Regions from separate parts of the Homo sapiens genome. Here region 2 is linked to region 1. Evidence: promoter capture Hi-C in human tissues and cell types (Jung and others, 2019). All regions are on one chromosome and are shown on one strand. Each heading gives the region's core, a stretch centred on a gene start or on the middle of the fragment in contact. The rest is flanking DNA. Distances are from core to core; before and after follow the strand shown.

Evidence for each region. Contacts are between HindIII fragments. The study calls those that stand out against the background at their distance.
Region 2: a fragment that was not itself captured here is called in contact with the fragment with the promoter of PTPRD in region 1 in 1 of the 25 tissues and cell types used here (dorsolateral prefrontal cortex).

What each region holds. Positions count from the first base shown.
Region 1 is chr9:10,608,281-10,615,767 of GRCh38, forward strand. PTPRD (protein tyrosine phosphatase receptor type D) reads right to left here and starts at 4,722. Exons shown (of 46, transcript NM_002839.4): 1 at 4,408-4,722; 2 at 4,118-4,225. PTPRD-DT (PTPRD divergent transcript) reads left to right here and starts at 4,926. Exons shown (of 3, transcript NR_110696.1): 1 at 4,926-5,146. RefSeq lists a silencer at 4,667-4,876. The HindIII fragment of the contact is 2,966 bases long and covers 2,871-5,836 here.
Region 2 is chr9:10,068,132-10,075,713 of GRCh38, forward strand. The region is part of intron 3 of PTPRD (protein tyrosine phosphatase receptor type D); the gene reads right to left. Among named protein-coding and RNA genes, the nearest start is that of PTPRD, 540 kb to the right of the region's middle. The HindIII fragment of the contact is 5,569 bases long and covers 2,879-7,582 here.

The DNA.
Region 1 (7,487 bases), core at 3,472-5,971:
CAGTAATAAAATCCAAAAATAATTATACATGTAATATGCTCTCAGTGGCAGCAGCATAGGGTCATTTAGAGAAACTTGAGTCCACCTCTTCCCTTCCATAATCTCCATCCTGCTCCTTCAAAAACACTCCAAATAAACATTCAATCTCAATCTACGTAACAAGAGTGTCCAGGCACTGCTGACCTGACTTCAGGACAATTTCCTTAGCCCTCTTTCAAACAAGATGGCTGCCCCTAACTCCTACAGGATTCTCAAACTGCCACAGTATAATCTGAGAATTTGCAAAATGCAACTTCAGTTATATTCAGTATATTAGTCACATAGCTTGAAAGACTTTCAAATTGCTAAGCCAATTTATTTACCTGACAGAGGTACAGAGAGTCCAGATTACCTCCTTAGGGTCACACTTCCAATTGTAGTGATGAAAGATAAACTCAAAACCTTTGTTACTACAATCACATCAGTGTTCTCCTAACGGGTAATGTTCATTTTTTGATTCTTCATTAATTCTTCTTCATTCAGTGAATTTTAAGAGTTTTGAAAAGCTTGTTACAAGTACAGTTAATGTCTACATTGTTTGACTGTATCAGGAGACATTTATTTATTCTTTACGGATGCCAAATGCTTTTGACAATCCTAAAAAAATAAAACAGTGAACCGACAGTAGTGGTAAAGAAATTGCACTTTAATACATAAGAAGATAAGTTCAAATGGCATTGAACTGGGTACAAAATTCTACTTATTTAATTTTCATTATAACTTTTAAATTAGCATTCTTGAATATTTGTCATATCATTTGCATTGTTAAAGTTTATTAAATTCAGGATAGGTGTAAGCCCAAAAATATGTAACTGAAATTAAAGTGTTTCCTCCAAACAACAGAGAGAACTTGAAATAATGTTATTTGCTGCATTAAATGTGAGACATACATAGATAGTAGCTAGATCAATAGAGACACATGGATAGATATATTTAATTCTGTAATTTTGAAAATCACATTTTTTTCAGAATTTTCTAAAAAGACATTAAGTAGGTAAGTTTCAAACATGTAACATGCATTTCAGGTCACCTATTATCAAATTATTATATAAATTCTGTTCACTCACCACCCTCTACCATAATCCAGTTTTAGAATTGTAAAGTTACATTAATCACACTTCTCTAACTGCAGAACAGTTTACACCAGTGGTAACCACAATAATTGTCATGTGCACTATTAGTCATTCCTAAAATTTTAACATAATATTCTGCTAATTCTTGGATATAACTAGCAATATTTTAGCTTTTCACTTACTCTCCAGCATTATTAAAGAAAAATGTGCATTTGCAGAACTCTGCACCTGCATACATTTGGATTCCTGCATCCTACTAGTAATACACAGGAAAGATATCATGGCATTCCATAAAGAATAAAGCAAAAAAAGTTATGAATAGCTCAACCTTCCAATATCACATCTAATTAGCATTGTTTTCTTTCTAAATTAAGTGTATTTAGTAAATAGTAATCATGCCTTGAGTTCCATAAAATATAAGACCATGTGGTCAACAAAATCATCTTTATGTTGCTATAGTTACAAGAGTAGGCTTGTAAATTTTATGTTAATATTAAAAGAAAAGAAAAACATGTTTGCCTTCACCAACAGCAACTGAAAGCAAATGCAGGTATACAGCACTTTATTAGAAAGAACCCCTTTAGTAAGCACATGTAAGAGGAATTAATCATTCATTCCCTGCAGACTGCTTATGTATTTCATCGGGCCATTATCTGATCTGAATAACAAGAACAATTGCATAATAAAACACATTACTGCTGACACTAGCAACTTTCTTCTCAACTTTAAAGTTGCAACTACCTCTGTACAGGACAGAGAGCTGGTGGCCAAAAAGGTGACAATTTAATCACCCATCCTGCTTTGCCATTTTTATCTGTTATTATATAGAGACAGGGATCAAATGCATGTGCAAGCTTTACTAGAAACAGCTTTCATTCAGGCTATTTTCCTTAGCACTATGACATAATTACAACAGAGGCAGAATGTATGTCAGGTTAGTTTTAATGTTACTTACAAATATTTGCTTTCAGAAATTCAAAAAGAATGCACAAATCTGTCATGTCTTCTCTACTGTGTAAAATATGTCCTATACTAATATATGTAATAACATGTTTGAACCACTGTTAAATTTGCCCTACTTAGGTACAATCTTCCCCTTTATTTTTCAATAATTAAGTTTTTTTTTTTCCAAATATCAGATAGCCTCTCGGACATGTGAGGTCAGAAATGAGTAGAGGTTATGTGCTATAATCCAAATCTGATCAGCCAAGGGCTTCATTTTAAATCACTTAAATTCATTTTTAAACCAATAATAGAAATGTTAGCTAAGAGCAGTAATATGTCTAAGAAAACTCATTTGGATAAGAAATTAAATAATAATCAAGAAACAATGACACATCTTTCTCAAATGATTCCATATATGATAACTTCATGTCAACCAATTCATTAACTGTTCTATTGTCCTGTCTCATTACCCTAAAAACTTATGGCCCAAGATATTTAGAGCTTTCAACACTGAGTAATCAAAACAACTCTAAAACATCTCTACTTTTTTGTAATAATTGTAACTTAGCTTACTCTTATAATTTCTAAAACCAATCCCCCATGAATACAGATGCTTTTATATACTCACTTAAGTAAATAAGGAGGTAAAAATATACTCATTCTACCATTATCAACAATTAAATACAAGGAAGCCCTTAGGTATAATTAATAATAAGCTGCTTTATTGAAAGAAATTCTCTGAGATAAGTACTTTTACTTTTCAATCTGGTTTTTAACTTATAAGGGGTTTTTATTAAAAAGTATGTATTATACTGAGAAAGAAATTAACAGTTAAAGATAAAAGGGATAAACTTTTTCTAATCACTATTAGACTCTAGTCAGTATAAGTACTACCATGTCAAAAAACTTAGGATTTGTTAAAAATCAGGTCTGTTTTGTCTAAGTTGCAACTCCTACTGTATCTACTGTATATGTAACAATGCAAGAAGAATTAGATTCAGAATCCATTTGGCAGTGATAAAGAAAAAAATGCTGAAATGTTATTGATTCTCTCCCTCTTGTGCAAAACAAACTGAGTCAACTATATTTTTCCTGACATAACACAAAGGTTTTATTTAGATATTACAAAATATTGGCAAATGTTAGACTACATGTTTTTTATATATATGTATAATGAACTTATTAACCCTTTTGTAGAAAGAAGAGTGTCCTACTTCTGTAAAAAGAAATGCTACAGCTACTGACATGGTGATGTTAGCCCCAAGAGGAATACTGCCTGCAAAAGTTTTTGATGCAGAGATATTCAGCCTTAGGAGACACCTTAAACCTGTCACTGGCTGCTGAGCCCTGTCAGAGTTTATAACCCGCTGTGTCAAAGTCACAGTCTCAGCCCTGCCCTCTCCAAAGTATTTTTCACATTCTCTCTCCAAATTAAGTTCATTCTAATTCTCCAACTATTCTAGTTCCAGGATTTTCCTCCAATTATTATCTCCTTACAGGCATGAAGAAATCGCAACAGAATTTTCATCTGGTCTTTCAAACCATCCTTATTAACTTTCCCTTTTCCGCCCCCCCCCCCTTTTTTTTTCTAGAGCTTTTCAGAACTAAAGATAAAACAACCAACCAACTGAAGTCAGAGTAGGGTGGGAGTTAGCATGGATTAGGGCTGAGGTTGAAGGTGGCAGGAGAAGTGAGCCAGTAGGGTTAGATTTTTCAAGCTTTTTCTAGATAACCACCCTTAAATCTTAGAACCAACCAATGTTTAACAAAGCAGGCTTCCAATAGCCCTTGAACAATAAACGTTTAAAAATCAGTTTTCCAGTAAGGCTGCCCATACTGATCCCATATCGAAGTCTTCTAAGGGCTCTTCCAAAAAAAAAAAAAAAAGAAAAAAATGCTTAGCGAACCACTTCTCAAATAGGAGCTACTGAAGTTATATAAGTCAAGTTATTCCCAGGTAAAATGAATAAACTGTCCACAGCATTGGACATTGGGCATTGAAAAGCATCAGCATATGCTTCACTTTAGAGAAAAGAAAGACAGAAGCACAGTTTACTTACTAAAGCAGCCGCTCCAGTCCTCCTTGGAAACCCTGAGGAGTCTTCTCTTTTCTTTCCTACCAGTCAAATAAAGAATTGTCTTTCTATTCCACACAGGCCCAGAATAAACTGCAAAAAGGGATGGCACATGCACAGCAGCCCGTCAGGGTTTGGCTTTGGTGGGGTGCTTCGATTTCTGATTGTTTCAAAAGTGGGATCTTCTTTTCCGGAGGGAGGGGGCAAAGGAAGAAAAAGAAAGCGCGCTCGGAAAGCCGGCTTGGGTCCTGCTAATTATTCTGAAGGCAAAGTACCTGCACTCTCCCCGCCGAGGCTGGCTGGCGGCGCCGCGCCGGAGGGGAGGAGGCTCGGGAGGAGGAGGAGAAAGAGCAGCGGGAGGACTCGGGCTGGGAGGGGAGCGCAGGGTTGGGGAGGCCGATGAGCGGCTCCCGGCTCCTCGGAGAAGCAGCCGAGACGGCAAGGAGGAGGCGAGGCTCTGTCGGGGCGAGGCGCTGCCCCCACGCGCTCCGGCCGCCGGCTGCGGGCGCGGCTGGGCGGGGAGCCGAGGCGGCCGCTCCCGCACTCGCTCGCTCGCTCGCTGGCGCTCCCTCCTCGTCTCGCTCGCACTCACAGGCACACACCCCACGTCTCCAGCAGCTGCCGCTCGGCCTCACGCACTCACCTGCATTTCCTTAACGAGCCACTTGATGGCTGCCAGCGGCGTGGGCCCCGCTCCGGCGGGCGGGGGCCGGGGCGGGGAGAACGCGGCGCGGGATGCTCCGAGCGCCCGCTGGGGAGAGAAGCGGCGGCGGCGGCGGCGCTGCGGGCGCGCCAGATGGGGCGGGAGGAGGGGAGACCCGGCACCCACCGGCCCAGAGCTGCCTGACGCGGCCTGGGCGGACCCCGCCGCCCGGGTGCCTAGGCACGATTCCAGGGATCCAGGGTAAAGCGGTTCGCGCGGGAACAGGAGGATATGTCAGGCACAGGCTATTCCCCATCACTATAGCCACAGAGGACTGGTCCAGATGCGGATCCCGATCTGTGCTTCTTCAGGTGTTCGCGTGCTTTCGGTTATTATTATTATTATTATTTTCCGAGGGAGGCTGTCGGTAACACCTAAGGGGTAGTGGGTGTTAATAGCTGGGGGACGTACATTTGATTTGCAATGGAATCGATGCTTATGAAGAGCAGACTTAGGGAGGTGAAGGGCAGGGGCACAGGGGTTGCTTGGCGGAGGGGGTGTACTTCGGCTGAGCTGGATGGAGTTTTCAGTCGGGGCGCTTGGCAGTCTGGCTGGGCTTGAGGGAGGGATAGAGCTCTGCCAAGGTGGTAGCTGAGAAGGGAAAACCTGTACAAGAGTTGCTGAGAATATGCCTCGCTGCAGAGGAGAGGACATGGATGCAGGGAGCGGATTCTTCCCCACCTCCTCCTTACCCCAAGGTAGAGTGGGGTATCGGAGTGCATCAGATGTGGTGTACCACAGACTCGGGAGACAGGGGAGGAGGAACTTAGACCCCCAGCGAAACTAGAAATAAGGTTTGGAGCTGGGGGGAGAAGAAGGGGCAGGATGAGAGAAAAACAGCAGGAAGCTTTTTGTCATTTTACTATCTTTCATGTCTCATCAGAGCATACAGCTATAGGCAACAAATGCTCTGTCTCTTGATAAACAGAGAGCAATGTCACCATGTCGGTGCGTTTTCTAAAAAGCCAAAATAATTATCCTGTTTGTAATATGCAACACAGAGCATTCCAGGTACCATCTGGTCAAAGGTTCTGTAAGCACTGTAGAAGAAAACAAATAAAAAAAGAACAACGAAAAACCAGTTATCCATCTACTTTCCTTATATGTCAATGATCTAATCGCAGAAATGTCACTTTCTCCCGAAGAGAAATAAAGCTTAGTCACTATAGGTGGAATTTTCCCCAGGGTCCCTTCACCTTTTTCTTTTCATACCTTCTCCACTGCTTGCTGTGTCCCTTTGCTCTTTAAAAGGGACCCTTCTCCTGAACCCACGCGCTGCCGGGTTCCCTGCTCAGCCTCCCTAAAGCCACGGAGCCTACCCATCCAAGAAGGTTCCCATGCACAAACAGTCATCATCACTTAAAAAGGTTCTTGGAAATGACAAGATATGAACGAAAAAAAATTACACCATATGTGCAAGTGTGTGTGCATGTGTACATATTTTTGTAATTATACAAAGCACTTGCCCCTCTTACGGTGCTGTCTCCCCAAGATGATGATGACTGACTCATATTCTCTCTCTCTCCCTCCCTCCTTCTCCCTTTCTGCACAAATACACACCACTCACTCCTGTCTCAGTTCCTTCCTGTCAGTGTTCAATAATGGTTTTACATGAACTTTCTGTTAGGCAGCCTCTGACTACCAAGGGCGAGTTGGAGTGGATTGGTAGGAGGGAGGCTGGTCTCAATGATGCCGCTCTGTTTCCTGCCATCCCTCAGTCATTACATACACTACTGTACTTAATGCCAAGTAGAAGCAGAAATGATTTCCTCTCTTGCTAGTCACAATAATATATTTGTCCTCCCTCAGAAACACAAGTAATTAATAATAAAAGAAATAATGCATCTTGAAACCATGGGAAGAGCAGATGGAGGCTGATGTGGTTGTGTTAGTCACCTTTTCTGTTGTTGTTGTTGCAAAGACAACGTGACCACCTCTCCCTTTCTACTGCTTCTGGTGGGTTAAGCAAAGCATTTGGCCCTTTTACTGTATTCTCTTTTCCATCTTTCCCTTGACAATAGTTTGTGTGTTTTAAGTAAAGATTTCATTCTGCCAACCCGCAGGAAGCTTTTAACAAGATGCAGCTGAGCGTGTCGATATCTTATATCTTTTTACTGCTGCATGGGGGTGTTCAGCAACTTGAAACTCTTCTCTACTTCAGCTCCAGGCTGGGATCTCACAGAGACAGTGCTCCCTGGGGCTGATTTACTCTTGCTCCTGTACAACTATCCTTTGGTGTCCTCTGGAAAACAAAGAATATTTTAAACAATGGAAGAATCAGTGTTATACTCAATCCCCTTCCTCCTACCTCCTCCCCACATAATAATATCACAAATGTTCAATGGATTAGCTTATTGTAGAGATTTTATTATTAATTACATCTGAGAATTGGATTGAGATATCTTACTTGAAGGTGATTGCACCAAGCTTAAGGAGTTAAGAAAATTTTATTATCTAACTACCTAGCTACACTTCCTGTAACATTATAATTTATTTCTCCTTCTTCAATAAAAAGGCAGATGCAAATGTCCGCTTTAAGTTATTGCCATATATTTACTCTTAAAAATCAGTAACCTATCTGAATTGGTTGTTGTCAGTGGACCACGTGTTTAAAACAACCATAACAAATGTAAGATAAAAATAACCAAAAAG
Region 2 (7,582 bases), core at 4,413-6,912, 540 kb before region 1:
TTATAGAGTTGTTTTTGCTTTACAAGAAAGACAACTGGTTGCAGGAGAAAGCATATCAGACAAAGAGTAAGAATAATTGATCTGAGCTTACATTCCAAATCTGCCATTTGCTGGATAACCGAATGTGGAAAAGGTGGTGAAAAGCCTTTATCTTTCAGGAACTTGGCCTTTTCATCATGAAAATGAATATAATAACCCCTATATGAATTGCCTTCAAGGTGAGTATCATATAAGATAATCCATCCTGAAGTATTTTATATATAAAAATGTGAAGAAGATATAGAGTGTAAATGATACCAGTGATACTCTCCTGGTCCTTTGGATTGGTCTGCTACACATTCCATGCCCTTTCACACACAAACTACTTAATTTCATCTACGTAATATGGGAATATGTCAGAAATAACATAGACTTTGAAGATGCGAGGTATACAATAGTGGGGACTGTGTTTTCAACCACCAAACCATATTTGTCCCTCTTTTTTTTTTCAGCTTCTCTAAGTTAATACTTAGAAACTGGTGTAACCACAAGAGCTTTTGATGTACCTTTACTCTGTGCCTATTGCCTCTGCTAGGACTGAATCAGCATTTCTATTTCCAAGTTGGAGCAGGTGGAAGGCCACTAACAGTGAAAAAAGAGTGGAATGCCAAGAAGAATGAGCACAGAAATATACTCTCCCTTTTTTTCACTCTGTTTAGTACACATGTTGTCTTTGTATTTTTGGCCCTTTTAAATGCACCCTACATATCCATAAAGAATAAGCAATATTTGAAATAAAAGCCATCCTGTGCATTCGTAGACTGCCTTCAGACTTCTTTCAGGTTCAGTTTATTCCCACCATATTAAACAGTTTGTTTATCATTATAATCTTTGCCCTTCAGCAAAATTAGTTCTTTGTCCTCTTTTGGCTGCCAGATCCTATTCAGCCTTTTGGATCTGGCAGCTTGGTTTTATTGTGTCAACCCATGGTTTCTTCACAAAATGGCTTTCATCATTCTGCCTATCCCTGTGGCATTGTGCAGCTTCCATCTATCTGACAGGGAAGGGAGATAAGACATTTCCCCCAATCTTCTGAATAGACACAGGCTGGAGATGGTAACCCAGACTACAAGAATCCCAGAATATAAGAAGGCAACAAGGTCAATGAGTCTCATTACTAAGCAGAGTGCAAACAAGAAGTTGTTCCCTTTGTGATACTCCATTACAGTTCCAGGAGTGTGAGCACCTGCAGGAATCAGGCTGTGAACATTAGCCCCTTGCTGGTTTGTAGTGCTATACTATGCCAGGCTCCCTATTGGAGCTGGATTTTCTCCTCTACATACCTTTCCAAACTGCCTGACCATTTTTTAATTGTGAATAGCTCCAGTGGAGTTGCTCCCAGGATTTCTCTAGAGAAAATAATGCTTTTTCTTTCTCTCACAAAACCAGATACAGTTATTCAGAATTATGGTGCACAAGTCTGGTGTTTGATCAGTTAGCTTAACACTCAACATAATTAGCCACTGAGACTTGACTTTGACCCCAATACAAAAAGATTTCAATTTTAAAATTAAAAAGAAGTAGTGCATATGAGTAATGACTCATATTCTTAGTTTTAGGGAAAAAACAGAGATAATTGTGAATCAGAAGTCATACACTTTGACAATTATGACAATTATGAAATGAACAAACTGATATGTGTTGACATGTTTCTGTATCTTGCTTCAATTTTTCCTGCTTTTTAAAATAATTAATATCTACTAAATTATATATACTATAAAAGAAGAGATCCTATGTATTTGCTATTTAGCACACATAGTATAAATGATGCTCTAGGATACTATTTCAAAATATGTGCCATGAACACACTGATTATTGTTAAAACACATATTCTTGGGGTGAAACCAAGACCTACTGATTCCAAATTTTTGGTGTGAAGCAGGGGAATGTCAAAGATTAATAACAACAAAAAAGGTAATTCCCTTGCTCAGTAGAAGTGGAAATTACCAACATAGGACTAATATATGGGCCAGTTGGGCACAGAGAGGAAATTGGTTTTTATGTTGGCTTTTCTGGCTTAGGCAATAAACTGTCTGTTTTGTCCACTTTTTTGTCCATTGCACCATTTTTGACCCTGCAGCTTTTCAAGCTCTTCCATTCCCTCATTACTGTTTATCTTAATTACTTAAACAGTATTCAAAGAAATGACAAAGTCAAAGATAGAGGATTATAAAGTTTTTCTCTAACCTTTGTATGTACCTCTTGTTCAATAAAATTAATTACAGATTGTAATTTCTTTAAGTTGGGTTCAGCATCTTTGTAGCATTGAGAGTAATATTTAGCACAATAATTTATGCATTTCTATGAAAGATTTTCAGCTCTTTACATAAGAAATGCTGCAACAGAAAGTAACACTAGGAATAATTAAAACATGCATAAATTAACAACATTATATTTGAATAAAATTAAAAGAGTCATTTATGGAGATCATAAAATCACATTACTATATACTTCTTTGATTACATTTTAATTAATAACAGAAGTATTTAATCAGAAAAAATATTTTGCTTAGGATTTTTCAAAAAATTATGCAGTCAGTCTTTACATCAATGTTTCTTGTTAAAATGAAATTTTCAATGACTATTTAGTAAGTTTTATTATGTGTAAGACTCTCCACCGGCCACTATCATATATATTACAGTTAATTTCTAAGCTATTCTATCAGGAAGAGATTATGATTACCTTATTTTGTAGATTAAAAAAATAGAGTCATGAGTCCACAAAAATCCCTAGAATGAGCAAGTGAGTACAGCAAGTTTCAGGACAAATGGTAATTAGGGAAACATCAACTTCTTTCTTCCATATGAGAAATGAACAATTTGAATTTCAAATGTAAGAAAAGATTATGATAGTACAAAAATCAAATACGTGGTATAAATTTAACAAATGATGTACAGAATCTGTATGTGAAAAACTACAAAACTCTGATGAAAGAAATCAAAGAAAATCTAAATACATGGAGAGAGATTTCATGATTACAGATTGGAAGACTCAAACAATATTGCCAAGATGTCAATTTTTCCCTACATGAATATAGATCTAACACAATTTTCATTCAAATCCAAGCAAGATATTTTGTATATATGGATAACCTGATTCTTGATTGTAAAATTTATGTGGAAAGGGAGAAGGCATAGGATATCCAGAACAATAGTGGACATGAGGAACAAAGTTATATGACTCACTCTACTTGATTTCAAGACTTACCGTAGAGCTACAGTAACCAAGTCAGTGGGATATTGGTGGAAGAATACATGCATATCAATGAAACAGAATACAGAGTTCAGAAATAGACCTACACAAATATAGTCAACCCATCTTTGAAAAAAGAGTAAAGCCACTTCAGTGGAGAAAATCATTACCAGAAATGGTGCTGAAATGTGTATGTCTATATGCAAAAAAAGGAAAGAAACTAGACATAGAGCTAATAACTTTTATAACTCAAAACTCAAAAATTAACTCAAACAAGGATTGTAGGTCTAAAAATAAGTCTAAAACTCTAAAAATTCTAGAATAAAACATGAGAAAAATTTATGTGACTTGATTTGGTGATGAGTGTTTAGGTATAACACCATAAGAATGGTGCATATGAGTAATGACTCATATTCTTAGTTTCAGGGAAAAAAAACAGAGATAATCAATGACCAGAAATCATACACCTTGACAATTATGAGAATTATAAAATGAACAAGCTGATATATGTTGATATGTTTCTGTATCTTGCTTCAATTTTTTTCGTTTTTTTAAAATAATTATTATCTACTAAATTATATATTCTGTAAATGAAGAGATCCTGTGTATTTGCTACTTAGCACACATAGTATAAATGATGAAAAAATTGGTAAGGTTTACTTAATTAAAATTAATTATACTCTGTAAAAGAGAAGAAAAAGATTAAACATAGACTGGGAGAATATATTTGCAAATTACATATCTAATAATATACTTGTATATGAAATATACAATAATTCTTAAAACTCATCAATAAGAAAATAAAGCCATTCAAAACATAAGCAAAAGATATAGGTGGCAAGTTAAGTATATGAAAATATGCTCAATATTTCGCATCAGAGGAATGCAAATTAAAGCAACAATGAGCCATCACTACATATCTAGCAGAGTAGCTAAAATAAAATAAAATAAAAAACTGATCATGTCAATTGTCAGTGAGTATATAGTGTGTCCAGAGTTGGTTCCTTCCAGTGGGTTCGTGATCTTGCCGACTTCAAGAATGGAGCCATGGACCTTCGCAGTGAGCGTTATAGCTCTTCAAGATGGCACGAACCCAAAGAGAGAGCAGCAACAAGATTTATTGTGAAGGTCGAAAGAACACAGCTTCCACAGCATGGAAGGGGACATGAGCGGGTTGCCACTGCTGGCTGGGGTGGCCAGCTTTTATTACCTTATTTGTCCCCTCCCATGTTCCATTTTTGTCCTATCAGAGTGCCCTTTTTCCAATCCTCCCTGCAATTGACTGCTTTTAGGATCGTGCTTATTGTTGCATTTTACAGAGCACTGATTGGTGCATTTTACAATCCTCTTGCTAGCTACATAGCGCTGATTGGGGCGTTTTTACAGAGCACTGATTGGTGCACTTTGGAAGATAGTTGTGTAGTTTTCTGCAAAGCTACATGAAGTCTTATCATACGATCCAATTATCACTTTCTAGTTATTTACTAAACTGATTTGAAAATATATAGCCACATAAAATGTTTATAGCAGTTTTATTAATAACTTCCTTAAACTGGAAGCAACCAAGATGTCCTTCAGTAGGTGAATAGACAAGCAAATTGTGGTATATCCATAGAGTAGAATACTTCAACTTAAAATGAATGAGCTATTAAGCCATACAAAATATCGATTAATACATTTTGCTAAGTGAGCCAAACCAGTCCAAAATGGTGACAGGTAAAACTATAGAGATAGTAAAGAAATCAGTGGTTATATGGGGTTTAGTGGAGAGGAGAACGTTGAATAGATGAAGCCCACAAGGTTTTAGGGCAGTGAAACTTTACCTTATGATACTGTAATGGGATATATATATAGTTGTGGGATACCAGGATGGAATGCAGGCTGTAACATAAGACTCTGTATTACAAATTCAGGAAACAATCTCATTAAAGGGAGTAGGGTGAGCAGAAGGGGCTGCCATAAGTAACTTTGGAAATGAATGTTGTCTCTAAAACTAAAAGCAAAGGAAATTTCACATAAATACTATACTATAGTTGATAAAGTTGTCTGTCACTGTCACAGCCAAGAGGAGCCTACAGAGACATGATAATGAAAAACGGTATTCTGGATGTGATAGTAGAATAAAGAAATAACATTAGGTAAAAATTAAATAAATCCCAGTAAGCATGCACTTTAGTTAATAAAAGAGAAAGAAATATTTGATTTGCTAAAAATCCCAAAGCTGAAAGATGGCAGTTGGAAGATGGTTGGTGACTAGTTCCCCTGTCTAGTTCCTTTGCCTTTGAGTCCAGTGGTCTTCCTACTATGAGGAAAGAGGTCTCATCAGCATGCATTGGACAATGACTCATTTCTACATCGTTGACATGTGCCAATAGTTGAGGAACTAAAAGCCTCTTATTGACAAGGGCCAGATTATTCAACTAGATTATGTCACATTTATCCTCTACTCCCTGTTGTGAGTGAACTACTATACTGGGTTCTGAGAATTTTTGAAAGATTTTTCAAAAAGTGACTAATTTTCTTAAAATATACATTAATAGTTTATAAATTGTATGGACTGACATAACTTTTGAAACCAGCATAGCTAGAAAATTGAATTAAAGAGAAATTTCAAGTATTCTTGATAAGAGGTAAAGTGCACATAAAATACTGTGATGCTTATAATCACCAAATAAATATGCTCCAGGGTGAAACATTACCTTGTGTAAGCTGTCACAGAATTTGCGTGGAGGTATTTCAGATACCCACCACAATTTCAGTTATTCAAATGGCCTACTCAATTCTGCCGATGTTTACTGGATAGAATCATGGCATCATACAATATTTGGCTCCTCTCATTGGCCTGCTTATGTGCCATTTAAGACCATGGGCCAGTTGGCTTTATTTCTCATCTCTGCAGGCTCCTATAGTGGCCTGAGAATGTTTAGATAACTATAATATCCACAGCAATGCAAAATAGCTTGCAGTTTGTGAGACCAAATCCAAAGCCACTGCCATGTCTAGAAACACAGAAATAAAAGAATATGGCTCTATTCCAGTCCCTCATCATGCATCAATGTACTCAGGGTGTTATTGGCTCAGTTTGGATCTCTGGAACTTCTAAAGCTGACAGAGGAGTAGTATTTATTATTTTTAAAAGGTGTGAGAACATTAGAGGATCTGATTAATGTTTTGGATGCTCTTTTCAGAAAAAAATAATGCACAGACACATTCTATTTTCACTTGATTTCATGATGCTTTCTCTGATCCCACTAAAGCCCATGGATAGCAGTTAATGTCACCAGTTTTTGAGGTTATTCAGAAATTCCTCTGTACCAGCTCTGATTTAGAGGAAAGAGTGGGCTCCTGTGAACTTCCTGCACATGTTGTGCATTCAGCTTATGTTTCCAAACCAGAGTAGTGGGAAGGAAATGATAAGCTCTGCTGAAGCACACACAGTATATATAGCATCAATCCGAAGCCATCTGAAATGTTGTAATATAGCCACCATTTCAGGCCTCTAGTAATGATGGAAGCATTGCTTCCCTAAACCTCTTTATGAAAGATTTTTATTTCTCCAGAAGTTTTTGAGAAATATTACTTAGTCAAACGATTTAGGTGTCCTTTCCTTTCAATAAGTGAGGAGATAGGGGAAGAGAGAGAAAAATAAAATTTGAATAAATCCCAAATTTATAAATTCATTCTGTGTGGATTTCATGGAGTAATAAGTTATTGATGCAAATATTGATATGGGCATCACATGAAGATTTTCAGTGGATTATATTCATTTCTGTCAACGAATAAAATACAGTGAAATAAGGCTTGTATCTTTTGCTGAGTACTTGCAATAACCTACATTCATTTTTATTACTGAAAACCTACTTGCTAAAAATGAGACCCCCCGAAGGTGCATAATTATTATTAACTACAAAGCAAAAACTTAGTACATTATTTGACATCTACTTTTTTCCACATTTTATTTTTATAGTCTCCAGGATAATTGTGAAAAAACAGATTCAAAACATATCTAAGCCAACTATGAAAGTAATTTACTTACTTTATGGCATGCTCATTCATTTTCCACAGTATTTCTCATCTTGTTATTGATATAACTTTTTATAACTTATTTGATTTATATACTTTATTATTTTATGAAATAAATAATATTTTATATTAATCCATCATGTATTTATTGTTATGATTATGGGGGATTTTAATCAGTTTTGTTCACTGATAAATCACAAGTGTCTAGACAGTACTTTGTGCATAGAAGGCACTCAGTATATATTTGCTCAATGAATACATCATTTTTTTCATCTTTGTTTCTCTCATTTTCTGGGGGGGAGGGGGAAAATTGGTTGTGCTCTGGATA